Linked DNA regions of Homo sapiens: regions 1, 2, 3, 4 and 5 are each linked to region 6. Evidence: promoter capture Hi-C in human tissues and cell types (Jung and others, 2019). All regions are on one chromosome and are shown on one strand. Each heading gives the region's core, a stretch centred on a gene start or on the middle of the fragment in contact. The rest is flanking DNA. Distances are from core to core; before and after follow the strand shown.

What was found. The method cuts DNA at HindIII sites, captures the fragments that hold promoters and counts their contacts. A contact is called where the count stands out against the background at its distance.
Region 1: a contact is called between a fragment that was not itself captured here and the fragment with the promoter of SNAI1 in region 6, in 1 of the 25 tissues and cell types used here (lymphoblastoid cells).
Region 2: a contact is called between a fragment that was not itself captured here and the fragment with the promoter of SNAI1 in region 6, in 1 of the 25 tissues and cell types used here (bladder).
Region 3: a fragment that was not itself captured here is called in contact with the fragment with the promoter of SNAI1 in region 6 in 1 of the 25 tissues and cell types used here (spleen).
Region 4: a fragment that was not itself captured here is called in contact with the fragment with the promoter of SNAI1 in region 6 in 2 of the 25 tissues and cell types used here (lymphoblastoid cells and spleen).
Region 5: a contact is called between a fragment that was not itself captured here and the fragment with the promoter of SNAI1 in region 6, in 2 of the 25 tissues and cell types used here (lymphoblastoid cells and mesenchymal stem cells).

What each region holds. Positions count from the first base shown.
Region 1 is chr20:49,617,369-49,622,467 of GRCh38, forward strand. No RefSeq gene overlaps it. Among named protein-coding and RNA genes, the nearest start is that of PTGIS, 52 kb to the left of the region's middle. RefSeq lists a silencer at 3,279-3,328 and an enhancer at 3,459-3,528. The HindIII fragment of the contact is 7,433 bases long and covers 1-5,089 here.
Region 2 is chr20:49,696,863-49,701,741 of GRCh38, forward strand. The region is part of intron 1 of B4GALT5 (beta-1,4-galactosyltransferase 5); the gene reads right to left. Among named protein-coding and RNA genes, the nearest start is that of B4GALT5, 15 kb to the right of the region's middle. The HindIII fragment of the contact is 5,555 bases long and covers 1-4,088 here.
Region 3 is chr20:49,572,868-49,577,808 of GRCh38, forward strand. No RefSeq gene overlaps it. Among named protein-coding and RNA genes, the nearest start is that of PTGIS, 7.2 kb to the left of the region's middle. The HindIII fragment of the contact is 3,141 bases long and covers 687-3,827 here.
Region 4 is chr20:49,470,589-49,475,425 of GRCh38, forward strand. The region is part of intron 1 of KCNB1 (potassium voltage-gated channel subfamily B member 1); the gene reads right to left. Among named protein-coding and RNA genes, the nearest start is that of KCNB1, 9.7 kb to the right of the region's middle. The HindIII fragment of the contact is 4,785 bases long and covers 770-4,837 here.
Region 5 is chr20:50,326,587-50,331,072 of GRCh38, forward strand. No RefSeq gene overlaps it. Among named protein-coding and RNA genes, the nearest start is that of LINC01271, 7.5 kb to the left of the region's middle. The HindIII fragment of the contact is 9,236 bases long and covers 1-4,486 here.
Region 6 is chr20:49,981,076-49,985,578 of GRCh38, forward strand. It overlaps SNAI1 (snail family transcriptional repressor 1), which reads left to right and starts at 1,905. Exons shown (of 3, transcript NM_005985.4): 1 at 1,905-2,066; 2 at 2,749-3,276. The coding sequence starts at 1,985. RefSeq lists an enhancer at 310-1,247 and a silencer at 1,400-1,919. The HindIII fragment of the contact is 23,979 bases long and covers 1-4,503 here.

The DNA of each region.
Region 1 (5,099 bases), core at 123-2,622, 360 kb before region 6:
TGTGCATACTCCCCCACCCACTTTCACACCCCGCCACCCTCCTCACCCTGCACCCTCCTCACCTCACCCCCTCTCCTCACCCCACCCTCTCCACACCCCACCCTCTCCACACCATCACCCTCTCCACACCATCACCCTCTCCACACCCCACCCTCTCCACACCATCACCCTCTCCACACCATCACCCTCTCCACACCCCGCCCTCTCCACACCATCACCCTCTCCACACCCCACCCTCTCCACACCATCACCCTCTCCACACCCCACCCTCTCCACACCATCACCCTCTCCACACCCCACCCTCTCCACACCCCACCCTCTCCACACCATCACCCTCTCCACACCCCACCCTCTCCACACCATCACCCTCTCCACACCCCACCCTCTCCACACCACCACCCTCTCTACACGGCCACCCTCTCCTCACCGCCACCCTCTCCTCGGTGCCCTTGAGCAGGCCTTCATCCCCTGTGTCACCAAATGGCTCTTGGTGTTGTGATCCTTGCTGCCAAGTCCCAGTGTGGGATCCCGTGCTCAGAGCCACTTCTCAGCAACGTTTGACACTATTGACCTCCCTCTCCTTCTCGAAACATCCTTCTTGAAACAGCCTCTATTCCTGACACTAGATGCTCCATGGGCCCTGCCTCTCCTCCTCCTCCCTGGCAGCTCCAACTCAGTGGCTTTAAACAAACATGTGTTCTGATACATCTCAGACTCCCAACAGCATCCTTGATCTCTCTCCAGGGCTCTGGACTTGAATGTCGAGTTACCTACTTGAAATATCCTAAAAACACAGCCTGGTTCCCCACAAAGACTTATTTCATTCCTCCTTCCTTATCTCCGCACTCTCCAGTCTTTGTTCCTCAGTGACACCACCCTGTAGCTCAAGCATCAAAGTGACGTATCATTCTCAAGTCCTCTGTTTCCCTCCCACCACCTCCAAAATTTGTCCTGAGTTTTCCATTTCTCTGTAACCCCATGGCCACCACCCTGGTCCAGGCTGCTACCGTCCTCACCCTTGACCTCCTTGCTGTTTCTTTTTGGGGTTTTTTTTTTTTTTTTTTTTTTTTTGCTGCTACATTTGCTTCCCATGCTGCCGGGGGAACTTTCAGAAACATAAATCAAAACATGTCACTTGCCTGCTGGAAACCTTCCAGTGGCCTCTGGCTGCCTTTCCAAAGACTCCCAAGTCCTCACATTGGCCTACAAGGCCCCATCTTCTTCTCCAGCCTTCCCTCCTCCCTTCCTATTCAGCCACATTGGCTTCCTTTCATGTTCTCCAGCAAGCCAAGTTCTTTCCTGCCTAGGGGCCTTTGCACTTGCTGTTTCTTCTGTCTGTAACTCTCTTCCTTCTGCTCTTCCTATAACTGCCTCTTTCTCTTCTTTTAAAGCCCAGCTCAACCATCACCTTTCCAGAGATCACTTCCCTGATCATCTAATTGAAGGACCTCACCCTTCACCCTGGTCACTCTCAACCCTATCATCCTGTTTATTCCCTTCATAACTCAGCAATGTCGGGAGCTCACTTACTTGTTGACTTGTTTATTGTCTATCCACCTCTCTTCCCCAGAATGTTGGTCCCATGAAGGCAGGGATTTAATATCTTTCTTATTCAGTGCATTAGATGGAAACCAGGTACACACAGCACAGTGCCTGGCACATAGAAAATGCTCAATAAATATTGGATGGATGGATGGATGGATGAGATGGATGAATGAATGGATGGGATGGATGGGATGGATGGATGATAGATGGATGGGATGAATGGATGGATGTGATAAATGGATGGTTGAGATGAACCGATGGATGAATGGATGGGTGGATGGGTAATGAATAGCTGGAATGGGTAGTTGGATAGATGGATGATGGATGGGTGGATGAGATGGATGGATAGATGGATGATGAGGGATGGATGGATGAGATGGATGGATAGATGGGATGGATGGATGGGATGAATGGATGGATGAAATGGAGGGATGAATGAATGAGATGGATAGGAGGGATGAATGAATGGGATGGATAGGATGGATGAATAGATGGATGAATAGGTGGATGGATGAATGGGTGGGTGGGGGATGGATGGATAGGGTGAATGGATGGATGGATGAATGGATAGTTGGATCGATGGATGGATGGATGGATGAATGAGATGGATGGGATGGATGGATGAATGAGTGGGATGGATGAGATGGATGGATGGATGAATGGATGTGTGGGTGGGGGATGGATGGTTGGGATGGATGAATGGATGAGATGAATGGATGGATGAGTGGATGACATGGATGGATGGATAGATGGATGGGATGGATGGATGGATGGATGAGTGGATGGGATGGATGGGTGGATGAATGGATGGATGGATGGATGGATGGGATGGATGGATGGAAGGACGGATGGGTGGGTAATGGATAGATGGGATGGGTGGATGGATAAATGGATGGATGGAATGGATGGATGGATGGATGGATGAGTGGATAGGATAGATGGCTGGATGGATGGATGGATGAGTGGATAGGATAGATGGCTGGATGGATGGATGGATGGGATGGATGGATGGATGGATGGACGGATGAGTGGGTAATGGATAGATAGGATGGATGGATGGATGAGAGGATGGGATGGATGGGATAGATGGATGGATGGGGGATGGATGGATGGATATGCAACCAGATAAACAAACCTAAAGTACACCTTTAATCATGCCACTCTCCTTCTCCAGAACCTAACTTGGCTGCCCACTGCCTATGGAATAGACAGCAAACTCTCCTCTGGGACATTCAAAGCGTTCTGAACTGATTCCAAAGTGGGGGTGCAGTGAGTGATAAGTGAGAAGATAAGTCATTCATACTGAAGCATTAGGAAGTGGATCAGTTAACCATCTCTCTCCTTGATCTGGGCATGAGCCATTTGAGGGCAGGGTCATCTTCATCTCTCTGTCTAGACATTGAGCCCTTGGTCAGCAACATCAGAGATGTCTGATGAATAAATACATGACTGAGTGAGCGAGTGAGCAAGTGAAAGCAGCCCCACTCTGCCCCAAAAAGCCAGCAAGCGAAAAGCAGGAAGCTTCAGACCCAGAGGGCTGAACAGTTCAAATTTAGAATAGGAGAGCAGTTTCACTGTTTCAGGTCACTGCTCCTGGCCAAGGTTTCAAAAGTATGTAAAGCTGGGGCTCTGCAGCAACAGGAAAATTGAAACTTACCAGAAACTAGACTGGCAGTGTCTCTCGGGAGGGACTGATTTGAATGCCAATGACCTGATCCTCCAATTATAAGAGCAGCACAGTGTCAGACTAAAAAGCACACTCCCACGTAATTGCAACCAAAGCCACAAAGACTCCCACAACTAAGAGTGGCACTTCTTCAGTGTCCCGTCCTGCTGACACACTTTTGGTTTTTGCAGACCTTGGGCCCTTCCATTGTGACTCTTGGTTTGCAGGTGGAAGAGGAGCAGAGCTGTGAAGAGGAGAGCTTGGGGTCACCTCAGCTCTGCCAGAGGTTCTGTGACCTGCCAGAGGCTCTGGGACCTTCCCTGAGTCATCATCTGTGGAGAAAGGACTTGCCACTGAGTGGTGTGTTCTACTTGTACCGCTCTTCTGATCGATCAGCGTCTTTGATTGGGTTCCCTGGGAAACAGACTCAGAGAGCTGGGCACGCAGGTGGTTTACTGGGGAGTGCTCTCACGCACAGCACCTGTGAAGGGGGTAGAGTGGTGTGGGGGGCAGTGATGTGGGGCTGGAATGCAGGCACACCAGAGGCCTCACCAGAGCTCAGAGGCTGGAACAGCCCTTCTGAGTTGCCTACATCAGGACCATGAAATGGGGTCCTTAGACCCCCATGTCAACCCGACGTTGGAGGTGGCCTGCCCCTATGGAGGAGGCAGTCTTAGGCAAGGCGATTCTCCTTGGCTGAAGGCGAATCCTGGAGCCTCTGTCCTGAAGGAGAATCCAGGTGGCAGACTACAATCTCCACTGAAGTCCACTCCTCTTCACTTCCACCGCCTGGAGCCAACCCATCACCTCTCATCTGGATGCAGCCTTAAGATCCTCCCCAGAGCTCAGCATTCATGCTTGGCCCTTCACCAACAGAGTCCAATCTGCACCAGGAACCCAAAGCCACAGGAGGTCTCCCAGCACAGAAATCAGATCACTTCACTTCACTGCTTGAAACCCTCAAATGGCCTCCCAGAACAAAACACACTCAGAATAAAATCCTGAGTGATCCCTGCCTCTGCCTATGACCTCTCCCTTCACTGTGCTTCAGCCCTTTCTCTCTCTCTCTCTTTTATAACAATCCATCATGACGTTCAATGTTCTCTTTTTCTTGAGACAGCAGCTGTGTTCCACCGCAGGGCCTTTGCTCTTGTTGTTCCCGCTGCCTGACGTTCTCTTCCCTCAGATCTTCCCATGGCTGACTCTACGTCCTTCAAGTTTCATCTGACACGTCACCTCCTCAGAGGGATATTCCCTGGTTATCCGATCTAAAGTGGTTCCACATTCCTCGCACGTTACCTTCCTTTTAAACCACTTCTCACTGTCTGAAACTATCTTATGACTTTACTAGTTGACTTCCTGTCTCCTTCCATCAGAATAAACTCCGTGGGGGTAGGAATCACATCTGCCTTGTTCAACTCTGTTACCTGCAGCCTCTAAACCAGAAACCAATGCGTTGTAGGTGTTATCTATTTGTTGAATGGCTTAATAATGATTTCATGATTCTGTCTCCTTACTTATTGCTAATCTTGCTCTTTTTACTGTTTGCCTTAATCAATCAGATTTGTCAGGATTTATCTGTCTTCAGGTGCTTTCTTTTTAAAGAACACCTTTTTCACTTTATTTATCACTTCTACTTTGTTTTTTCTATTTCATTAATTGCATAGTTTACCTTTAATTTCTTATTCCTATCCTTTTGGCTTCTTATATTTTCTATTTTCTTAAGTTAAATACTTAATCCACTTTGTTTTCAATTTTTAAAAATAATAGACGTCTTTAAGGCTATACATTTTCCTCTGTAGGCAGCATTAGCTATGTCTCACACACTTTGGTATGAACAGTGTCTGCTTTTTAAGACTCTAGATAAGTTTCCATGTTGGTTCTGATT
Region 2 (4,879 bases), core at 61-2,560, 280 kb before region 6:
GCTTACATAAATAATCTACTGGGAAGTCTACTCAAAATTCACAATGAAGAGTCGGTTTTTCACACATATAATACAACCTGAAACTATAGCTTCAATCTATGCAGATGGTTTTACTATTTTAATTATACAACTAATTAATACCAAAATTAGATCGATGTTGTTTAATTTGTGGCTACTGAGGAATGTTACTATTCACAAATCACAAAATCTGTGCCAAAATAAGTCTTCAAAGGGATATTGTTGCCTCCTTACCCTTCTAAGCTTTGCAGTGGGCTTTGGTCAAAGCTGACATAAACAGCTAAAGAAATTAACAACAGAGTCTCAGAAGACAAGGCCAGGGGAGCCAAAAGGACACAGGTGCTACACACCCAGGCAGTTGTTGTCTGCTCCCAGAGCACCTGACTTCAGCAGCCACAGCACCTGCTCCTCAAGCGCAGCGGCGCCTTTGAGGGAGCACAGCCTGGAAGGTTTACCCTTCGCAGAGACGCTTGCTCTTGGACTTCTGGCTGTACATTCTGAGGGTTCAAATGAAGGATGGGACAATGGGAAAGCTTAAATCCTCTGGAAACGTCACTGTGATCAATGGCTTCAACCCTCCTCTACCTCATACCAGTTCACTGGAGCTGCTAACACTAAGTTTCCTTCTTTATCCGCCCATCTCTATTCCAGTGGAGCCCCGTGATTAAGGGATGGCAGAGGAAGGGGACATGTCCTTTTTTTTTTTTTTTTAACAGAAAAACACTCATTTAGATACCTGGTTTAGTAAGACATCTGAACAACATGAAACCCAACTATGTAAAAGCTTTAAAAATCCAGGTTATGAATTAGCCTAAACCTGTGCTTATGTTCCATTCTGTTTAGAGGAAGGGGGATGGAATCCCTTTCACCTTTATATTTTTCATGACAAGTCCATGGTCACATCAAAAATTACTTTTGTCTTTAACACAGTTGAAATTATTAAATGTTATCTAGACCTAACCAAATCCTATTTCCTTAATGTTATATTCAGGACAGTGAAAAAAATACTGTTTTCTTTTAGCAAAGTCTGACTTTTAAGGCTCAGTTTTTACCTGATTAAATAAACTGCCCCTGCTTTTGAGGTTAGAAAAATTACTTTTGTTCATGGGGTCCATTATACTGTACTATTAAGTTTACTTTTATATGTTTGGAAATTTCCAGCCGGGCGCGGTGGCTCATGCCTATAATCCCAGCTACTCGAGAGGCAGAGGCAGGCAGATTACCTGAAGTCAGGAGTTCAAGACCAGCCTGGCCAACATGGCGAAACCCCATCTCTAGTAAAAACTACAAAAATTAGCCGGGCATGGTGGCACGCACCTGTAATCCCAGATACTCGGGAGGCTGAGGTGGGAGAATTGCTTGAACCTGGAAAGTGGAGGTTGCAGTGAGCCGAGACGGTGGCACCACACTCCGGCCTGGGGGACAGAGCAAAACTCCATCTCAAAAAAATAAAAAAAGAAAAAAGAAAATTTCCATAATAAAATGAAACTCTTAAGGAAAAAACTGCTTTGAACATAAAGCCAACCCAAAAAGTAGCTCTTACCTAAAGTGAATTTTCCCTAGTGCCAAATGAAATTCAAATAAATCCCAATCTTCTAATTCACACAAATCTTAAGATTTCTAATACTTTAAACCAGAATGAAAAAGTCAGGTATGCCAAATTAACAATCGAAGAGAAAATTAATCCCACACCAAAGCCAAAACATTGAACTTCCTCCCACTCTCGCATTCACACACACACACAAGCATGAACCACACAATGAAGGATTCCAGTTGCCCCATCCAGACAACTGGACGCACATCACACACCTCCTAGTCATCCAGGGACCATCTTGGCAGCCTGTTTCTCATCACTACCTGCCACCCTGTGCCTGTGTTGTGGACGAGGAAGGCACGGGTAGTAGCCTAGCTTTTTATTTTTTTAAATCTCAGCAATAGAGGCAAGGTTATTTCTACCTTACATCCAAGAGTATGGAGCACAAGACTAGCTGTTTATTAATAACATGCTTATTTTCCACACCAACCACACGGTTTTCCAATTTCACAAAGTAAATACTTCCTCATCCCTCTTTAGAAAAGATGAAACAATTTATCGTAGCCTAAGCAAAAACCACCTATCAAAGCAAAGACTGGCAAGCAGATTCAAGACATAAAGGTATAGCTTTTACTATAAATTTGAAACCAACAAGAAAGCCATTAACCTAAATATTTTTCTAATCAAAAATCAGAAATGACGTTAATAGCAACATATAAGAATTACTGTATCTACCACACTTAGAATGTACTGGGGTAGATGACAATGACAATCAGTACTGATTGCCTTATGTTTATCAACTTTTTCATCTACATTTCAGGTTTCAGTGCAAGACAAACCATTAATACATTCATGACTAGCCATTTCAAAGCATTATTGTATACATACTGTACGACACAAAGTGCTTAATTGTAACTTAAAAGGTTAAAACCCATCTTGAATCCTAAATGGGCAAAAAAAAAAAAAAAAAAAAAACCCCACTAGTCATTTGCCCACAAACCAGGCCCCATATAACCATCAAGCATCTGACTGCATCGGACATGATTAATCTGAAACTGTGCTATGAATCATACAGCAGTCCTCCCTTATCTTCAAGGGATACGTTCTGAAATTCCCCAGTGGGTGCCTGAAACTGCAGGTAGTACCAGATCTAAATACATTGCTTTTTCCTATACACACATACCTATGGTAAAGTTTAAATTATAAATTAGGCACAGTAAAAGATGAATAACAATGTAAAAGGAAAATAAACTTGGGGACCCCAAACCCACTAAGTCAAAGAGAAAAGTCAAGGTAGGAACGGCATCATGCAAACCTACCTCCCTCACAATCTGCCCAATAGGAAATTCCTTGTGGACCTCAACATCCTTACCCTACAACCACTCTGCTGAATTTCACCCTGACAACGTAAATTGACAGCTTATCTTCACAGGTATAGGACAAAGGACAGAACTTAAAGTCATTCCTCTGCTTACCTGAGACAAATGCATAATCTCATCACTTCCTCTGCCCGGTAAGTATATTTTGTCTTATGTAAAAATGCAGATTCACTGAGCTAGATGAATGCATAAGGGACTATTCCTCCGCTGCCCCCCACCCTTGCCCGCCACATGTGAATAGCTGATCAAAGACTCAAAAGAATGTAACCATTTGCCTCCTATCTACCACGCCTTCCTAAAATTTCTCCCCCTTTAAATACTGAAGCCCTCAAAATCATCTTAGGAGAAAGGCACAGACCTTGGGCCTGGGTGCATGCCCTTAACCTTGGTAAAATAAACTTCTAAATAAATTGAGACCTGTCTCAGATACTTTTTGGTTTGCAACAAATATAAAATGGTTTTACAATTTGGTTTACAACAACAACAACAACAATAAAATGGAACAATTATAACAATAATAAAAGTAATTAAGTAAAGTTAATTTTTCTGAGAGAGTCTCACTCTGTTGCCCAGGCTGGAGTGATCATGGCTCACTGCTGCCTCAAACTCCCAGGCTCATGCGATCCCAAGTAGCTGGGGCTACAGGCATGTGCCACCACACCTGGCTAATTTTTATTTGTATTTTTGTAGAAACAAGTTTTCCCCCAGGTTGCCTAGGCTGGTCTCAAACTCCTGGGCTTAAGCGATCCTCCAGCCTCGGCCTCCCAAAATGCTGGGATTACAGGCATGAGCCACCACACCTGGCCATAAGATTAAAATTCAAAAGTATTACAAATAATAAAATTAAAATAAGGGTCACTTGAACACAAGCACTGTGACACCACGATGATGATGTGATAATCCAGACGACTACTAAATGTGTATACAGCGTGGGTATGCTGGACAAAGGAATGACTCACATCCCAGGCAAGACAAAGGGGGACAGAGCAGGATGGTGAAAGATTTCATCACGCCACTCAGAATGGTGCACAATTTAAAATTTGTGAAATGTTTATTTCTGGAATTTTCCATTTAATATTTTCAGAACTCAGTGAAACCACAGAAAGTGAAACTCTGGATAAGGGGGTGACTACCTTATTCACTATCATTCCTGGCAATTAAAGAATGTTAACTCCAACTGAACACCAGATGAATTGGCCCTCAATTAAACACATCTGTCCAGAAATATAAAATCACCCAAAACTAAAAATTTACTAAAGTGAAGCATGCTCCTTAGAAGACTTAAAAAATAACAGTGATACACTGTCTGCTTTGTTCATCACTGTATCCTTCAAGTCTAGCACACTGTAGGGGTGTTACACAGAGATTAATGAATTTAGCTATAAGAAAATAGCAAAATCAGGCAAATGCAAAGATGAGTTTGTAATTTTTTCTCTTTTATCACAGGCACCAGAACATAAAAGTTTTCTAAGTACCCACCCCTGCCTTTAATCACCATTTTTATCACTCACATTTAGATAAATACATTTGCAGTTCAGCTGATATCAGAAAAAAAAATATGTATCAAATTGTCAAATTTTACTAAGTCAGAGCTGTGGGAGTCCAGCAGCTTTTACACGTTAGATTTTTCTATTTCCTCATTCGTCAGCATTTGACATCATTTTCTGATGTTATAAAGGATAACAGAAAAAAAAACCCTGTGCACACATCACGCCCCTCCTAGTCATCTAGGGACCATCTTGGCAGCCTGTTTCTCTTCACCACCTGCCACCCTGTGCCTGTGTTGTGGACGAGGAAGGCACGGGGAAACAGAATATTCTGGTGAATAAAGCATTACTAATTTTCAAAGAATTAGAAGGCAAAAACAAACAAAAAAAACACCCACAATACCAAACTGAAAGTCATGCCTCAGGGTCTTTATTGTAACTACTTAATACTAAACACCAAA
Region 3 (4,941 bases), core at 1,007-3,506, 410 kb before region 6:
TTCAAGGCTAACAGGTTGTCCTTGAGCCTCCTGAGGAGCCCTATGTCTCCCAAGAACAAGTCTGCTTCCCCCAGTGATTGGCTAGGAGCAAACCCTGGGAAGCATGGCATATCTGTCAATCAGGCTCCACCAAGGGAGGTCCCAGAGGTGTGTTTTCATGGCTGCTGCAGCTACGAAAGGAAGCACAGCTGCCGTCTAAAACTGGAACAATGCAAGAATAAATTCTTCCACTTACAGAAGCTAAACGAGGTTGAGAGGTGGAGGGGAAGGAGAGACCCAAACCGCAACGTTTCTGGTGTTTTTGTGCTGCTAAAGAGAGAGTGGTAAACTCAAGTCTTCGAGCAAGTATTGCAAATGAATGAAGTGAGCCAGTCATATCAGGAAGGCAACAGGGAGGGATGGGAACAATGGAAAACTAGAGAGGGCTGCCCCATCCAAAAGGAAGCAGCTTCTGGCAGTACCAGCCAACTAAAGCCACGTAGAAATACATGCCTAGTGTGGCCAGATCTTTAGACTCAAGAGAAGCCAGAAATAATGGCTCCAATTATTTTAAAACGCTGCATAGACCAACAGCACACACCTGCCCCCAGATTTTTAGCCCTGCAGTCTAGTTGTGCCAAGGGCCAGTGGTTTAAACATTTGGGGTATGTAAAATAGGTTTGGAGTTGGGATGTTGAACAAAATTGCTCTGTAGAATTAAGGAAGGACAACAGAGTTTTAGGGGGCAGCCTGAAAGAGGGGGCAAAGACCAGGCCGACATGAGCACAGATTGGGGGCCTGTCCCAGTGTGACATCCTCTGTGGAATTAGGAGCCAATAAATGACCATTTCTATTGGTGATGTGTCATACTGAGTGTTTAGTTGTTTGCTGTCTTGGGCTGTGGAATAACACCACACATACACTCATATACATACACACGCACACACACACATGCACTACTCTCACATACACACTCACATGTTGCCCCAGTTACCCCCAAACGTTCAGAAACAATCTGCTACACACGTCAAGTGACCAACGCATCCTGGTTTGCCCAGACTTTCCCAGTTTTAGCACTGAGAGCCCTGCATCCTGGGAAACCTCTCGGTCCTGGGTAAACCAGGAAGGTTGGTCACGCTATCACCACACCTCAGCGTAGCGTGTGAGTGGCCAGAGATTGGGTCAGAGCTGTGGCAGCCACCTTGGAGCCTGAGGAGAATCTTTGCTAAGTCACACAATTAATTAGCCACCCCTGGAACTGTGCTGCAGTAGATTAGATCATAGTCTCCAATTTTTACCCACTCCCTGTATCAGAATTAGACATTCACGCCCTTGGCTGCAGGGTTGCGGTGCCTCCCACTATGAGCAGAGAATAGTATCTCCCTGACTCAGTGATGGTGGACTCGGGCCTGTGACTCAATTTGATCAGTGGAGGATGAAGAAATGACCAGTTGCCAGTTCTGAGCAGAGGTTTCACGAGGAATCACATATTTCCACTTGACCTTGGTTTCTGCCTTGAGCCATGACCCACAGGGCAAACCTGAGCTCAACCTGCAGCCTGAAGTAGAGAACCCCTAGCTGACCTGCAGAGGTCCGAAGAAGAAAAATGTACGTGTTGTTACAAGTCATGGAGATTTTGAGATCTTCTTAAGCAACAAGAATTGACTAATGTATACTTTATCTCTGAACTTTTTAGAATCCTTTTGGTTGAATGTTCTTTGTACCAGTTAAATTAGAATAGGCTGCTTTCTACTCTTGGAGCCTTGGTACATCTGTACAAGAGGATGATGACGACAAGGCCCCCCTCCCATGGTGGTTGGACGAATTCAAGAAGATCTTGTGTCTAGTGCATGCAGTAGGCACTTAATAAAAGAGATGATGCTAGGCCGGCTGCAGTGGCTCACGCCTGTAATCCCAACACTTTGGGAGGCTGAGGCAGGAGGATCATGAGGTCAGGAGTTCGAGACCAGCCTGGTTAACATGGTGAAACCCCGTCTCTACTAAAAAATACAAAAATTAGCTGGGTGTAGTAGGGGACACCTGTAATCCCAGCTACTCAGGAGGCTGAGGCCGGAAAATCATGTGAAACCAGAAGGGCGGGGGTTGATCGCGCCACTGCACTTCAGCCTGGGCAAAAGAGTGAAACTCTGTCTCAAAAAAAAAAAAAAAAGAAAAGAAAGAGAGATGAAGCAAGGCTGGGCTCAGTGGCTCACGCCTGTAATCCCAGCACTTTGGGAGGCTGAGATGGGTGGATCACTTGAGGTCAGGAGTTCAAGACCAGCCTGGCCAACGTGGTGAAACCCCGTCTCTACTAAAAATACAAAAATTAGCCAGGAATGCTGGCGTGCGCCTGTAATTCCAGCTACTCAGGAGGCTGAGGTGGGAGGATTGCTTGAACCCGGGAGGTAGAGGTTGCAGTGAGCCGAGATTGTGCCACTGCACTCCAGCCTGGGCGACGGAGTGAGACCCTGTCTTAGCAACAACAACAACACAGCAGCAGCAGCAACAGCAACAACAACAAAAGAGATGAAGCATAATTCTTTCAGCACATATTACCAAGTATTTATTTGCCAACACTGTGCAGGCCTCTTTATCAAGAATTTTACTGAAGAAATGAAAGACAGAAAACCTCTTCACTTGGTCTTTTTTATACATGAAGAGAAAGCAGGTCTGAATCAGAGGCAGAGGGTTGGAAGAAATGACCTGTTTTCTGCCATCTGGGCCTTGCTGCTGACTGTCTCTAAGAATTTGCACAGGCCTGGGCCTTTGGAGATTTGAAGGTCTCTAAAGTGCAAGGATGTCAGCTGCAGGGGAGCCATCCTCCAGCATCCTTCCCCAGGAGAGCCAGGATTATGTAGGGAATGTGCTTGGCTAAGAGCCCAGAGGTGGGGCAGCTACCCAGATGCAAACATGGCTGGGCCAGGCGGCCTTTCGTTCAGCGTTCCCAGGCTAATTCCACCTAGACCTTGTCTTAGCCTGTGAGAGGATGTTCTGGAGTGGTCTTGCCCCTCTTCCCAGGCTATCTGCCAGAGGTGGTGGGTGCTACAGGAGAGGGACTCCAGCAAGCTTCTCATCCTTTGGTTTTCCCAGGACGGGGGACAGGTGGCCTCACGGCTCCCAACCAGCTGCCTTGGCACTTTGTAGTGGAAAAAATGATGAAGTCAGACCTCAGTCTCCTCAACTCCCTGCTGTCCTGCCTGAGAGCCAGCCTAGCATGGAAGGCAAGGAGAAAAGAGACCCATGTTGATCTGTCACCCAGACAGACCCTGAGTGATGATGCTCCTGCCACCCTGAAGCACCCCAAGAACCTCAGAACTTCTGGCTTCTCATCTTGAAAATGGGACAGCAGTCATAGCTGCTTTGCTTATTATGTCAAGGAGTTACTAAAGAGGATCCAGTTAGATAGTGGGGGTAGAAAAATGGCTGCCTAAGGCCACATTTACCCTCTCCTTCTAGAAATTATACCAGAGCATCAAGAATAATGGAAAAACAAATATACAAAACCAAACCACAAACTCCATTTTTAGCAAAGCCAGGAGAGACATATAATTCATCGGCTTCAGAGTACGTGTGAAGCAGCTAAGACAGGGCAGAAGCCACATGGGAGTGGTGAGTGGGCTCAGTGATAGCAAATCTCAGAAAGCATCAGCAAAACTACACTTCCTAGGGATGAGGGCTTGCCATGAGATGAAAGTTATGTTCCTTCTTTATAAAAATGAATGTAGAAGCTTGGGTGAATACGATTAGCAGCAGAAGCTCTCCTGGATCTCGTTTGGTTCAGAGAAACAGAGGAGGTATAGTGAAGAATTACAGAGAGAAGACATATTTGCAGGAAGCAGTCTGTCTCTATGGCAGCAGAGGAGAGCCACAGTTACAGAGCCCATGAAGCTACCCTAATTCTTCCTTACACCCATAGGAGCAATCAGCAAAATACCTGACCCAGGAAAACCAAGCCCTTCCAATGACAAGCTTTTGAAAAAGTGTAAAAGCCTTGATACAAAGATATTATGATAAATTATGAAGAGCAGAAAAATCTACCAATAGATGAAAGTGTTAACACAAAATGGATGAAAATTATATCCAAATCATATTGGCATAAATTCAAAAAAGAATTGAATGGAGGCTGGGTGTGGTGGCTCACGCCTGTAATCCCAGCACTTTGGGAGGCCGAGGCAGGTGGATCACCTGAGGTCAGGAGTTCAAGGCCAGCCTGGTCAACATGATACTCTCGAGGCTGAGGCAGGAGATCGCTTGAATGTGGGAGGCAGAGGTTGCAGTGAGCTGAGATCATGACATTGCACTCCAGCCTGGGCAACTAGTGAAACTCCGTCTCAAATTTAAAGAAAGAAAGAAAGAAACATCTTAGGAGAACTGAATGGAGCAACTACCTCTGTGAAGGAGGACAATAAGGAAACTGAAGAACTCAAAAAGAAGGCAGGCAAAAGGAGGTAATGAACATGAAGGGTTAGCACTCAGGAAAGAAGTAGAAAGAAAAAAAAATATCAGAAATGAAGACAAAATTGGAGGGGAAGGAAATAGGCCCTGCAGAAAATACAGCAAGGACACGGTTAACAGAAATGGAAAAAGAGGAAAAAAATGAGACAGAAATAAAGAAAACATTAGAAAGACTAGAAAGAAAATTGGCTGGGTGCTGTGGCTCATGCCTGTAATCCCAGCACTTTGGGAGGCCAAGGCAGGCAGATCACTTGAAGTCAGGAGTTCAAGACCACCCTGGCCAACATAGCAAAACCCCATCTCTATTAAAAGTACAAAAATTAGCCGGGCATGGTGGCACACACCTGTAATCCCAGCTACTCGGGAGGCTGAGGCACGAGAATCACTTGAACCCCAGAGACAGAAGTTGCAGTGACCTGAGATTGAGCCACTGCACTCTAGCCTGGGCGACAGAGCAAAACTCTGTCTCAAAAAATAAATAAATAAATAAAAATAAATAAAGGTGTG
Region 4 (4,837 bases), core at 1,912-4,411, 510 kb before region 6:
GGTTGAGAAACTGGGCTCTGGTTGAAAAACCAGACACATTCTTCATCCAGAGCCTGGCATAAGCAGCTGAGAGTCAGACTTCTAGCAATGTGTTAGTAATAAGAGTGAAAGTCCCAAAGTTTGTAAACAAATTCCTTTTTCATCAATTAGTATTCTCAGTTATCTCTAGGATAACATCATTCATTCATTTATTCAATGCATGTATTTCATGCCTGCTCTATGGCAGGCACTGAAGACACAACAGTGGACAAAGCACACAAAATCCCTGCCCTTTGAAGCTTACATCAAAGTGGGAGAGAGAGAAAGGAATCATATAATTAAGTAATTATATGTCAGGTTGAAACAAATAAAGCAGCCATGGGGAATGAACAGTGCTATTTTATATGTGGTGGTCAAGGATGGCCTTGCTGAGATGACATTTGAGCTGAGACTTGAACAATGTGAGGGGTGAGTCTCGTGGCATCAGCAGGAAGACCGTACCAGGCAGAAGGGACGGACAGTAAGTGCAAAAGCCCTGAGGTGGGAGGGTGCCTAGAACAGCAAGGAGGCCACTGTGGATGCAACAGAGTGATGGAGAGGGAGAGTGGTAGGGAAGGAGGCTGTAAGGGTGCTGGGAAAAGGGGAAAGATGCCAGATAATGGGCCCTGTGAGTGGGACTGAGGAGTTGGGCTTTTTCTCGGAGTGAGGCAGGAGCCATAGGAGGGTTTTGAGCGGGGGCGTGAGTTGCTGTGTGTGGAGACCAGACGGGGGATGGGAGGCTGGAGGCAGCAGATGGGACTAGAGGCTCCTGCAATGGTACAGGAGGGAGAGGATAGGGTCAGGAAGGCAGCAGTGGGGTGGCAAGAAGTGGCCACAACCTAGACACGTCACTCACACTTGCATCTCACTCTCTCACTTGCATTCTGCCAAGCCGTCCTGAGTGGAAGAGGAAGGGATGAGCCATGCTGGGTGTGTCAGAGATTGCCCCTTATCCTGGCAACAATGATAACAGCAGCTGCCCCAGATGGCGACTCCCTCTGTTCCCAGCACTGCACATGGTGCTCCACAGCTTAGCACCTCTGATCTCCGCCATCCCATGTTGTCTTCTGTGGCTGGGCTTCCTGGCCGTGTGCAGAATCACCCAGGGCAACAAATGGTGTGGGGAAAATGGGGATATCCCCATGCAATGGAATGAAGTTGGTTCCTTATCTTACACACCACATGCAAAGACCTAAAATAAGACTACAACTGTCAAACTCTCAGAAAAAATTTGGGGAAAAGCTTTATGATTTCCCCCTATTGCCAAAGATTCCTCGAATATAATACCAAAACACAGGCAACAAAAGAAAAAACAGACAACTCGGTCTTCAACAAAATACAAAACTTCTGTGTATTGAAGGACACAATCAACAGGGTGCAAAGACAACCTATGGAATGGAAGAAAATATTTGCAAATCGTATATCTTATTAGGGATTAATATCCAGAATATATAAAGAATTCTTACAACTCAATAACAACAACAACAACAAAAACCCCAATTTAAAAATAGGCAAAGTACTTGAGTAGACATTTCTCCAAAGAAAATACAGTAGTCCCCCCTTATCACAGCAATATCACTTTCCAAGGTTTTAGTTACCTGCAGTCAGCTGTGGTCCAAAAGTATTACATACTATAAGATATTTTGAGAAAGAGAGACCACTTTCACATAGCTTTTATTATAGTATTTTGTTGTAATTATTCTATTTTATTATTAGTTTTTGTTGTTAATCTCTTACCGTGCCTAATTTATAAATTAAACTTTATCATAGGTATGTATGTGTAGGAAAAAACATATAATATACAGGGTTTGGTACTATCCGAGGTTTAGGCATCCTGATAAGGGGGTGCTAGTATATACAAATGGCCAAAAAACACATGAAAAGATGCTCAGCGTCACTAAACATCAGGGAAATGCAAACCAAGACTGCAATGAGATACCACCTCATGCCCATTTGGATAGCTACTAAAAAAAAAAACGTAAACAAAAAAATAGCAAGCATTGACAAGGATGTTGATATAGTGGCTATTTGTCCCCTCCAAATCTCATGTTGAAATGTGATCCCCAATGTTGGAAGAGGGGCCTGCCTAGTGGGAGGTCTTTGGGTCATGGGGGTGGATCCCTCACGGATGGCTTGATGCCCTCCTTACGGTAATGAGTTCTTGTGAGATCTGCTTGTTTAAAAAGGCCTGGCTTCTCTCTTGCTCCCTCTCTCTTCATGTGACACACGTGCTTCCCCTTTGCCTTCTGCATGACTGTAAGCTTCTTGAGGCCCCATCAGAAGCAGATGCCAGCACTATGCTTCTGGTACAGTCTGCAGAACTGTGAGCCAAAATAAAACTCTCTTCTTTATAAATTACCCAGCTTCAGGTTTTTCTCTATAGCAATGCAAAATGGACTAATACAGATAGGAAGAAATTGGAACCCTTGTACACCATTGGTGGGAATGTAAAATGGTAACAGTCACTATGAAAAACAGAGCAGCAGTTCTTCAAAAAATTCAAAATAGAATTACCATATGATTCAGCAATTCCACTTCTGAGTATATACCCAAAAGAATTGTTAAAAATCTAGTTGGTTTCTGCTTATCCATGCCCAGAAGAATTGAAAGCATGAACTCTAAGAGATATCTGTACCCCATGTGAATAGCAGCATTATTCACAATAGCCAAGAGGCTGAAGCAACCAAGTGTCTTTTGATGGAGGAATGGATAAACAAAATGTAGTGTATACATACAATGGAAAATTATTCAGTCTTTAAAAGGAAGGAAATTCTGACACATTACAACATGGACGAAGCTGAAGGACAGCATGATAAGTGAAATAAGCCAGTCACAAAAGGACAAATACTGTATGATTCCACTTATATGAGGTACCTAGAACAGTTGAGTTCAAAGGGACAGAAAGTAGGAAGGGGGTTGCCAGGGCCTAGGAGGTGGGCCCAGGAGAATTTAATGGGCACAGAGTTTCAGTTTTGCAAAATGAAAAAGTTCTGGAGATTGGTTGGACAACAATGTGAATATACTTTACTGAACTATACATTTTAAAACGGTTAAGATGGAAAATTTCATATTATGTGTATTTTACCAGAACTAAAAAGAAACCACTTAGGGGGTGAGTTTCAACTGTGGGGCCTAGGCATGAGTATTTTGCAAAGCCCAGGTGATCCTTATGTGCAGGCAGCATGGAGAAGCGCTACTCTGTGAGGTGTGCCCCAGGTATTACCCCCACCTCCCAGTCTCAGAGAGGTGAGGCGCCTTGGGGGCTCATATAGCCAGGAAGCAGAGGAGGTGGGATTTGAATCCAGGCCTGTACCCAGGTCCACAGAAGTGTGTCTCACATGGCAACATTACATCTTATTTGTTATTTATGTCATCAGAGAAAACATTTAAGGAGCATTGGCGCCCTGGATATTAACATGAGAATTCTAGCTCCCACCCCACCCACTCCCGATACGGGGGCTGAGAGATTCCTCCCATTTCTGGCCCCACCTAGTCATGCCCACTCCTGCTGGAGACACCAAAATCAAGTTGATTTCACCTCAGGGAGAAGGTAGGACCTTATGCATTTAGTTTATCTATTAAAATAATGCTTAATGCTAAATCTGTCTCTCCCATAGTCCCATCCAGGAGCCTTTGGGGGTAAAGTCGTCCTAGATCCAGAGCTAAGAACACTCCTAAGTCATAGGGTGATTCTGGACAAATCTCTCTCCTCTCAGCACTGCCCCAGCATGAGAAGGGAATACTGGGATCTTGCTTCTCACTTTCTGAAGGTCACTCATACAACTCAGAGATCAAAGTCATGGGCTGGGCAGTCAGGGAGTCCTGGGTGGGATCTGTCCCAGCCTTCCATTCACTGTGTGACCCTGGGCCAGACACTTCCCCTCTCTGAGCCTCAGTTTCCACGGCTGTAAGATGAGGGTAGTTATCCCTCCCTTATGGGGGGGCTGTGAAAATCAGATGTGATGGGGCATTTAATGCCCTTTGCACTATGCCAGGCAAGCACATTGTAAGCACTCAGTGTTAGCTGTTGCTGCCACCACTGTGGTTTTCATTTTATCTAAGAGACAGAGATGAGGCTGACTGTGCCCTGCCAGACCTAGAATTTCTTCTTTTACGACAACCTCCTAGAGGTTCTCTCTATCGGGGGTGGGCTGTCTATAATACAACACCAGGTCATTCTGAATAAATGATATGTCCTACAGAGCTTTGGTTGGTTTCCCCAGAATCTCAGATCCTAAGACAAGGTTCTGAGTACAAGTGGCTTATATGATAAGTGATCCCAGAAAACTCTGGAAGAGGGGAGGGAACATGAGACAGGGATAGGAAAGAGGTCAAACAGGGTCTGTTATCAAACAAGTAATTGCTGTGAGCAACTGAAGCTGCCCTGGGGACCAGTGTAGAACACACACCTCTGAGTTATACCCCCAGCCAGGGGAGAAGCACGTACACATCGTCCCCATCAGCCGGCAGGTGAGTATCCCACTAGTTCCTGCTGGGGTGTTAGTGCCCTGCCTTTACTGGACTCCAGTGGCCAGAGAAAGCCTCTAACCTTACAATGAGCAGGTATCATTTGATGAGAGCAGTTTTTTGAAAAGGAGCTTATTTATCTTGCAGGATTGTCAGGAGGATTACATGAGAGGACAGTAAAAAAGAAAAAAAACAACAACAGCAAAACCCAACAGTTATTGAGAGCTTTCTACATACCAGGTCCTAGTCTAAGTGCTTTGCATACATTAATGCATGTAACTCAATCCAATGAGGCAGGCACAGTGATTGGCCCAAAATTGCTGTTGGCTGAAGGAACCAGGGCACAGAGGGC
Region 5 (4,486 bases), core at 1,144-3,643, 350 kb after region 6:
GGCAAATGTGAAATTTGTAGGGCAAGCCGGCAGACTGGGGACTCAGGCAAGACTTCTATGATACACACTTAAGGCAGAATTCCTTCTACCAAAAACTTGGATTTTGCTCTCAAGGCCTTGAACTGATTGAATGAGGCCCACACACATTATCGAGCCCATCTACAAAATATCTTTTATTTTTATTTGTATTTATTTATTTATTTTTTTGAGATGGAGTCTCACTCTGTTGCCCAGGTTGGAATGCAGTGGTGCAATCTCAGCTCCCTGTAACCCCCACTTCCCGGGTTCAAGTGATTCTCATGCCTCAGCCTCCCGAGTAGCTGGGATTACAGGCGTCCCCCACCATGCCGGGCTAATTTTTTGGTGTTTTTAGTAGAGATGGGGTTTCGCCATGTTGGCCAGGCTGGTCTCGACTTCCTGACTCAAGTGATCTGCCTTCCTTGACCTCCCAAAGTGTTGAGATTACAGGTGTGAGCCACCATGCGTGGCTCAGAATATCTTTTTTTTTTTTTTTTTTTTTTTTGAGACAGAGTCTTGCTGGGTTGCCCAGGTTGGAATGCAGTGGTGCAATCTCAGCTCACTGCAACCTCCGCCCCTCAGGTTCAAGTGATTCTCCTGCCTCAGCCTCCCAAGTAGCTGGGACTACAGGTGCCTGCCACCATGCCTGGCAAATTTTTTTTTTGTATTTTTAGTAGAGATGGGGTTTCACTATGTTGGCCAGGTTGGTCTCGAACTCCTGACCTCATGATCCGCCCGCCTTGGCCTCTCAAAGTGCTGGGATTACAGGTGTAAGCCACCAGCCCAGCACAGAATATCTTTATAGCAACATCTAGACTCATGTTTGACCAAACAACTGGACACTGTAACCTGGTCAAGTTGACACGTAAAATTTAACTACCACAATTACCCAGAGCTGTTTATGTTGCTCTCAACTCTTAGCTCTATCTAATCTACTGTGAACATACATGCACACTCACACACATGCACACACTACCAACAACAGTGGTAGACATTTCATTGTAAGTGCACAGAAGTAAATATGGAAGGATGCTAAACTCATTACATGACCCCCTTGGGGAATGTCCAGGATGGACATCAAAGGGGATTTTAACTACAAGCTGTAACTGTAAAAAATATTTTTAAGAATATAATAATGGGTTAATTGTATAATTAAAATTAATATTTAAGTGGCAAAACTTTTAAAAGAAAACCAAAGGAGTCGTTAAGTCCCCATTATTCATTCAGCAAATATTTACTGAGCACCTACTTTGCAATAGTTGTTGGAGACACTGGATAAGACAGATCCAGTCTCTATCTTGGTGGAGCTGACATCATAGTCGAGAAGACAGGCAATAAAGAAGCAAACAGGGAAATAGCAGATGATTTCAGAAAGTGTTCAGGAGTATTCTGAAAGCAAGCAAGCCATGTGCAGGGGCACAGTATGAATGGGGACAGGGTTATGTTGGTGTGGGAAGTCAGGGAAGGCCTCCCTGCAGTGATATTTGAGCTGAGCCCTGAAAGAGGAGAAGGAGCTGGAAGAGCACACTGAAAGAGGACAAGGAGCTGGAAGAGTGGGGACCAACTCGGTACATGCAAAGGTCCTGTATTAGTCCATTCTCACACTGCTAATAAAGACATACCCAAGATTTGGTAATTTACAAAGAAAAAGAACTTTAATGGACTTACAGTTCCACTTATAGGTCTGGGGAGGCCTCACAATCATGGCAGAAGGTGAAGGAGGAGAAAAGGCACGTCTTACATGGTGGCAGGCAAGAGATCATTGCAGGGGAACTGCCCTTTATAAAACCATCAGCTCTCTTGAGACTTATTCACTATCATGAGAACCGAATGGGAAAGACCCAACCCCATGATTCAATTACCTCCCACGGAATCCCTCCCACTACACATGGGGATTATGGGAGCTACAAATCAAGATGAGATATGGATGGGGACACAGCCAAATCATATCAGGTCCTGAGGCAGGAATGGACCAGATGAGCTGGGATGAGAACCCAAGCAAGCTTCTGACTTGGAAACCGAGGCTCAGAGAGGGATACACACAACTCAAGGCCACAGCACTGGACGTGGTATAACTGAACGAGAATCCAGCTGTGTGCTGGTGCAGAGCTGCCTGTACAGGAAGGAGGCCTCTGAGCTGCTCAAAGGGCTCTATCTGCACTCCCCCACAGAAATCCCCTTATGATCAGAGCCAAACATTGGAGACCCAGCCCCCAGGCTTGTGCCAGCCTTGCCCTGCCAGCCAAGGCCAGTATCCCCACTGAGGGGCATCTGAGGGCTCTGTACACTTTGCCTCTGAGTTGAGGATCAATAGAAGCTACCACTGCTGTTTTACCTAATTATATAACAGTGGCCAGGGAGGAAGGTGTCAGGGATAGACGCTTTACCGGCACCATCCCATCAAATCCTGCTAAGAACTCCATGAAGGGGTATTATTATTCCCATTTTGCAGTTGGGAACACTGAGACTCAGAGAGATCAAATGCCTTGACTTCAGAATCTGTATTTTTTTTTTTTTTTGAGACAGGGTCTGGCTCTGTTGCCCAGGCTGGAGTGCAGTGACATGATCTCAGCTCACTGCAATCTCTACCTCCTGGGCTCAAGCCATCCTCCCACCTCAGCCTCCTGAGTAGCTGGGATTACAGATACATACCACCTAACCAGGCTAATTTTTGCTTTTTTTTTTTTTTTTTTTTTTTGTGGAGAGGGTGTTTCTCCATGTTGCCCAGGCTGGTCTCAAACTCCTGAGCTCAAGAGATCTGCCTGCCTCAGCCTCCCAAAGTGCTAGGATTATAGGCATGAGCTACTGCGCCTGCCCAGAGCCTGCATTCTTTACCTTTACAGTCTAGACCCTGCTCCTATAGATCCCCAGGAAAGAGCAAGACCATCTTTTTTAAATGCCAGAGCCTCAGATAGGAAAGGATGATCTCACCCAGGACTTCATTATACAGATAAGAAGACCAAGGTCCAAAGAAGGAGAGGAACCATCCTCTGACTATACAGAGCTGGGTCTCCTGCTCCCAGAGCCCCTCCAGCTTTACCCCCTGCTCCCCTCCCCTTCCTTCCATTCATGATGACCTCACTGGTCTCTAGGCTGTCGCTCCAACATGCTGAGCTCAATCCTGCCTCAGGGCCCTTGTACTTATTCCCCTGCCAGATCTAGCCTATCATTTCTTGTCTTCATTGACCACTCCATCTATAGTGGCTCTGCGTGTTGCTTTCCTACCTAGGTTTATTTTTATTCCTAGCATTTATCACCTTCTGTCATTATATTACGTATTTATATAGTTTCTTTTTGTCCACTACCTGCCTAGAATATTAGAACCATGAGAGCAGAGACTTTGTTCACAGCTGTATCCCCAGTGCCCAACCCAGGGCCTGGCCTCCATGATGCTCAATATGTGCTTGTGGGATGGATAGATGGGTGGATGAATGGATGGATGAATAAATGGGTGGAGAAATGGATGTATGATATGAGGGAGGAAGGGTGGGATAGATGGATGAATGGATGGGTAGATTAATGAGTGGATGGATAGATGGATGGATGAATGAATGGATGGATGGATGGATGGATGGATGGATGGATAGATGGTTGGATGGATGTTTGGATGGAGGGGTGGGTGGATAGATGAGTGGATGGATGGATGGATGGATGGATGGATGGATGGATGGATGGACAGCTGAATGGACGGATAGATGGTTGGATGGATATTTGGATGGACGGGTGGGTGGATAGATGGGTGGGTGGATGGATGGAGGGAATGAGGAGTGGATAGATGGATGAATGGATGGGTAGATGGGTGGGTGGATGAATGGATCAAGGGAGTGAGAGAGGGAAGGGATGGATGGATAGATGGATAGAAGGGTATACTAATGGGTGGATGAAAGGGTTGACGGATGGAAGGAATGATGGGCGGATGGGTGGGTGAGTGGATGGGTAGATGGGTGGGTGGATAGATGGTGGGCGGATGGACATTTCTCCCAGCGTCGCTTCCCATCCCTGTGCTGTGGGTCTCTCACGTGGCTGCCCTGACTTGCCTCCCCTGGCCCCAAGCCCGAGCAGGGAGCTCTGGGGGCTTCCACATGATTGGGCAGGATTTCTATTTCTCACCCTCCTCTGAGGCTGGGCAGACAAAAGCCTTTGTTCTTCCTCCCTGCCTGGCCCTGCTCCAGCCAGGGTGGGAAGTTGCTGGCAAGTCAGCAACTTAACTTTGCTGCAACTGAACTGAACTTTGAGGCGTAACCTGTCAAGCGAGCCCCGGAGGCTTCTGCGGTCCACAGGGGAGGGGCATGATGGAGGCATGGTGGGGAGCACCATGGCCAGGCACAGAGATGATCCCTATCTGGGTGGACCCCCAAGTCTCCCAGAGTAGATTCATTTTTTGAAGCAAGGAGGGGAAGCTAATAGATGAAGCTGGCTCTGGGCTCTCTGTGGACAGCTGGGGACGGTGTTTCTTTTTGTCCTCCAG
Region 6 (4,503 bases), core at 655-3,154:
CTCTCTTCACTAAACGAGGCTGAGCAGTTAGTGAAGTTGCTGCTGAAACAAAGAATGAAAGGAAGCCAGCGTGAAGATCTAGGAGCAAGAGACGTAGGGGAGAGGAGGAAGAGCAGCAGGTGCCAAGGTGGGAAAGGTCTGGGATGTTGGAGGAACAGAAGGAAGGCTGGGGGTGGGATCCTTGTGCATGGGGGAGGGAGAGAGGCTCAAGCCAATGTCAGCTGGGGTCAGAGCAGCGGGGCCGAGTTGGCTGAGGAGAGGACTTTGGCTTTTACTCTGAGACAGGCGCATGGGAGGGTTTGAGCAGAGGAGGGGGTGATCTGGCCTCACTTTGGCTTCAAGCAAAGGATCCTGATTGGAGCTAAATTGACACGGGACGGGGAGTATTCCGCTTAATGACTGCTTACTGCCTCTGTCCCCCACCCTACTGCCCGCTCTCCAGCTAGAACCAGGGGAGGACGATTTTGTTCACGGCTGTCACACCCGGCACCAAGTGACTAAACAGACAGTAGTTCTGCCCTTCAGGTTGGTGGTGGTGGTGGTGTGGGGTGCTTATAGGTTTTTATAGTCTTCCTTCACAGGTGGAAACAAGAACGGTGAGACCTGTGAGGTTTATTTCAGAGCCACCCCCGGGCCTGGTACGCCTCCCAGGGAAGCTGGGGTGGGGGTGCAGCTGCCCCTCACTTGGGCCCACCCCACATGCATTCAGTCAGGGCCCCTATGGAGCCGTGTTACAGCCTTTAGACACAGGATCGAGGATCTTCACGGGGTGAGGAGACACGCCCGGCCCATGCCTTCTTTCTCCCGCCAGCCTACAGGGATCTTTTTCAACGAAACTCTAACCAGGTCCCTCCTCAGCTGAAAATCCTTCGGTGGCTCCCCAGTGCCCTTGAGGCAAAGTCCAAACTCCTACGAGGCCCTGGGGCCCAGCACATCTGACCCCTCCGGGCATGCCCATCCCACCCCATCCCTGGAAGCTGCTCTCTAGGAGTTACTCTGAAGCAGTTGCCACTTCTTCCCTCGGGCCTTTTCCCTTGATAATTCTTCACTTCCTCTGGGAAGTCACCCCGACCCCCTGTCAGGTGACCCGCCTCTTAACGGTCGCCGCGTCCCGTCTCTCCCCCACCAAAGCACACTTCCCTTTGCATTGTAATTATCTGTTTACTTCGTCTGTCTCCCTCACTGGACCAGAAGCTACCCTTCGGGAGAGGCTCTGAGTGTTCTGTCCGGGGCTGTGCCCTGGCCCCAGGTACAGTGCCCCACACGTGCTGGGCGCTCCGTAAACACTGGATAAGGGAAGGAACGGGTGCTCTTGGCTAGCTGGGCCAGGCTGCTTTGCAAAAAGGCCGTGGCATTTCAAGCCGCCGAGAGCCACGTGCGGTGTCCCTTTCCTCGCTTCCTCCCCAGTGATGTGCGTTTCCCTCGTCAATGCCACGCTCTCCAGGCGCCAGCCGGGCGGAGGAAATTTCCGCCCCCTCCCAAGCCCGAGGCGGGGGCGGGCGTCGGAAGGTCAGGTGTCCCGGCCGGCGCGCAGCGCCAGGGGGCGTCAGAAGCGCTCAGACCACCGGGCGCTGAGCCGGTGGGCGCGCGGCGTCCTGCCGGGGTCCCACCTCGCAGAGGCCTCGCTTCGCTCGACGTCCCGCCCCGGACAGCCCCAGCACCGGGGACGACCCGCGCTGCGCCAGCGAACCCCGCCTCGGAGGAGTCCCCGCCCGGGCTCTCACCGCCACGCGGCGCGAGCCCGGCCAGCAGCCGGCGCACCTGCTCGGGGAGTGGCCTTCGGCGGAGACGAGCCTCCGATTGGCGCGGAGGTGACAAAGGGGCGTGGCAGATAAGGCCCCGCCCCTCCCACCCCCCACCACCCCCCCGGAGTACTTAAGGGAGTTGGCGGCGCTGCTGCATTCATTGCGCCGCGGCACGGCCTAGCGAGTGGTTCTTCTGCGCTACTGCTGCGCGAATCGGCGACCCCAGTGCCTCGACCACTATGCCGCGCTCTTTCCTCGTCAGGAAGCCCTCCGACCCCAATCGGAAGCCTAACTACAGCGAGCTGCAGGACTCTAATCCAGGTGCGTTGGAGGGGTTCTGGGCTCCAGGAGGTTTGGGGGAGACAGGCGAAGGCTGCGTGGGGGGCACCTGAGGGAGGCGGCCTGCCTGAGCCAGGATCGAGTCACAGGATGTTTTGTGGACCATTGCGGGCTCGGGAGACCGGGCAAGTGGGTCCCCAGTTCCGGGGATCTGTCTGGGTGGTTGGGGGAGTGCCGTGTAGAGGGCAGGGGTCTTCAGCTTGGGGGGCCTTTGTAGCCGGCGAGAGGCGGAGGAGCTCCGCAAGAGGGGAAGGAGAGGAGGCCTGTGTCAGGAGGGCCCTCTGGACGCTGCTGGGGAGAGTCCGGAGTCCAGAGGGTTGAGGGGAGGGGTGGGGAGACGAGATGTGTGTGAGGAGGGGGATTGGGGCAGGGTGGTGGCTCCGGGGCTGGGATGATGGGGTTCTGGCCTCAGGCTGGAGACTGGGGACTTAGGAGAGGGAGATCAGGAAATGACCTCCTTCAACTGGGGGTCCTACGTGTGAGAGACTCAGATTGGGTGACCTGGGCGAGGAGGGCAGGAACCTGGTCTGTCCTGTGGATAATTTTTTTGATCTAATTATGTATTGAGAATCGGCCCCACCCAGCCCCTGGCCAGCGGTGGGCTCATGTTTGTTGATTGAGTGAATGATTTAATTAACGCCTGACTCTGCTTTTTCTCCCTCAGAGTTTACCTTCCAGCAGCCCTACGACCAGGCCCACCTGCTGGCAGCCATCCCACCTCCGGAGATCCTCAACCCCACCGCCTCGCTGCCAATGCTCATCTGGGACTCTGTCCTGGCGCCCCAAGCCCAGCCAATTGCCTGGGCCTCCCTTCGGCTCCAGGAGAGTCCCAGGGTGGCAGAGCTGACCTCCCTGTCAGATGAGGACAGTGGGAAAGGCTCCCAGCCCCCCAGCCCACCCTCACCGGCTCCTTCGTCCTTCTCCTCTACTTCAGTCTCTTCCTTGGAGGCCGAGGCCTATGCTGCCTTCCCAGGCTTGGGCCAAGTGCCCAAGCAGCTGGCCCAGCTCTCTGAGGCCAAGGATCTCCAGGCTCGAAAGGCCTTCAACTGCAAATACTGCAACAAGGAATACCTCAGCCTGGGTGCCCTCAAGATGCACATCCGAAGCCACACGCTGCCCTGCGTCTGCGGAACCTGCGGGAAGGCCTTCTCTAGGCCCTGGCTGCTACAAGGCCATGTCCGGACCCACACTGGTACGTGCCCCTCCAGGCGCCCCCACCGTTGCTCTCTCTGGCAGCTTTTGTGAATCTGGGCTTGCTGTTCTCATTCCCAAAGCTGTGGACACTGAGGCCCCGAGTCTTCTAACTTCTAGCTCAAGTTCCAGGGCCTGGCTCTCTGGAAACGTTTGGCAGAAACTTTCTTCATCAGCTAAGCAGATGGGCAAAGCAGACACCTTCCCAATCCCCTGCAGCCTGTTTCTCAGCCAAATGGGTCGGAGCTGGATATGGGAAAGGTGCAACCAACACCTTGCTGTGGGGGCCAGGTGTGAAGGGGCCCACCCGGCCACACCCTCTCCCGGGTCCGCCCCCTCCCTAGCCAGACAGGATGTTGTCAGACCCCCCGCCTGGCTCTGAATCCTTCTTTGAGAACTTTCTCAAAACTTAGGCTGATGTTTCTCTTCTGTGAGCCTCATTTTCTCTATCTTTCAGATGGGCATGAGAACAGCTTTTGGGGTTTCTATACAGGCTAAATGCAGGAATGCATATGGGAAGCACCTGGCAAAGTGCCGGTACCTGCTAAACTCTCACAAAAATGGTTCCTTGGCATTTGCTCTGCTTCCTTGCTGTGTGACTTTGGGCAAGCAACTTAACCTCTCTGAGCCTTAGGGGAAAACTATGATAGCATATGTTTTAGAGAGTGGCTGTAAAGGTGGCTAATCACTTTATAGTAATTTATTATACCCGAACGGTTCTCAGGTCGGCTTCCCCACCCCCACTGAATCCTAGCACACAGACCAGGAAACGGCATCTTTGGGGCAGAAAACACAATCACGTCTTTTGAAAATTTACTAAATGTGTAAAAAACTTTCTGGACATGGAGAAAAGGTAGAACTTTTTAGAACTTGAATGGTGGCAGCCACTGTGCCTGGAGCTGCTCTTTGGAGAGTGACAGTTGAGGGAGAAGATTCCACAGGGTTCAAGCTGGCCAGGTTCTGCCATTTCCTGGCCTGGCGCCTGACCTCTGAGCGGTGAGGGTTAGTGAGGTGTCTGGGAGGACTGGCAATTCGCGGGCTTTATTGGCATCTTATTCGACTAAGGCTACCCATTTCTCTTCCTTCGTGCACCAATTGCTCTGATTTTAACATGTAAAGGTCCAACTGCCTGGCCTCCTGGGTGCCTGCCCAGCTCACAGGGCTCTATTTTGGGACAGTTGAACCCCTCAGGGTGCTGCAGTCCTGCCTGCCTCTCTCACCTCCCATC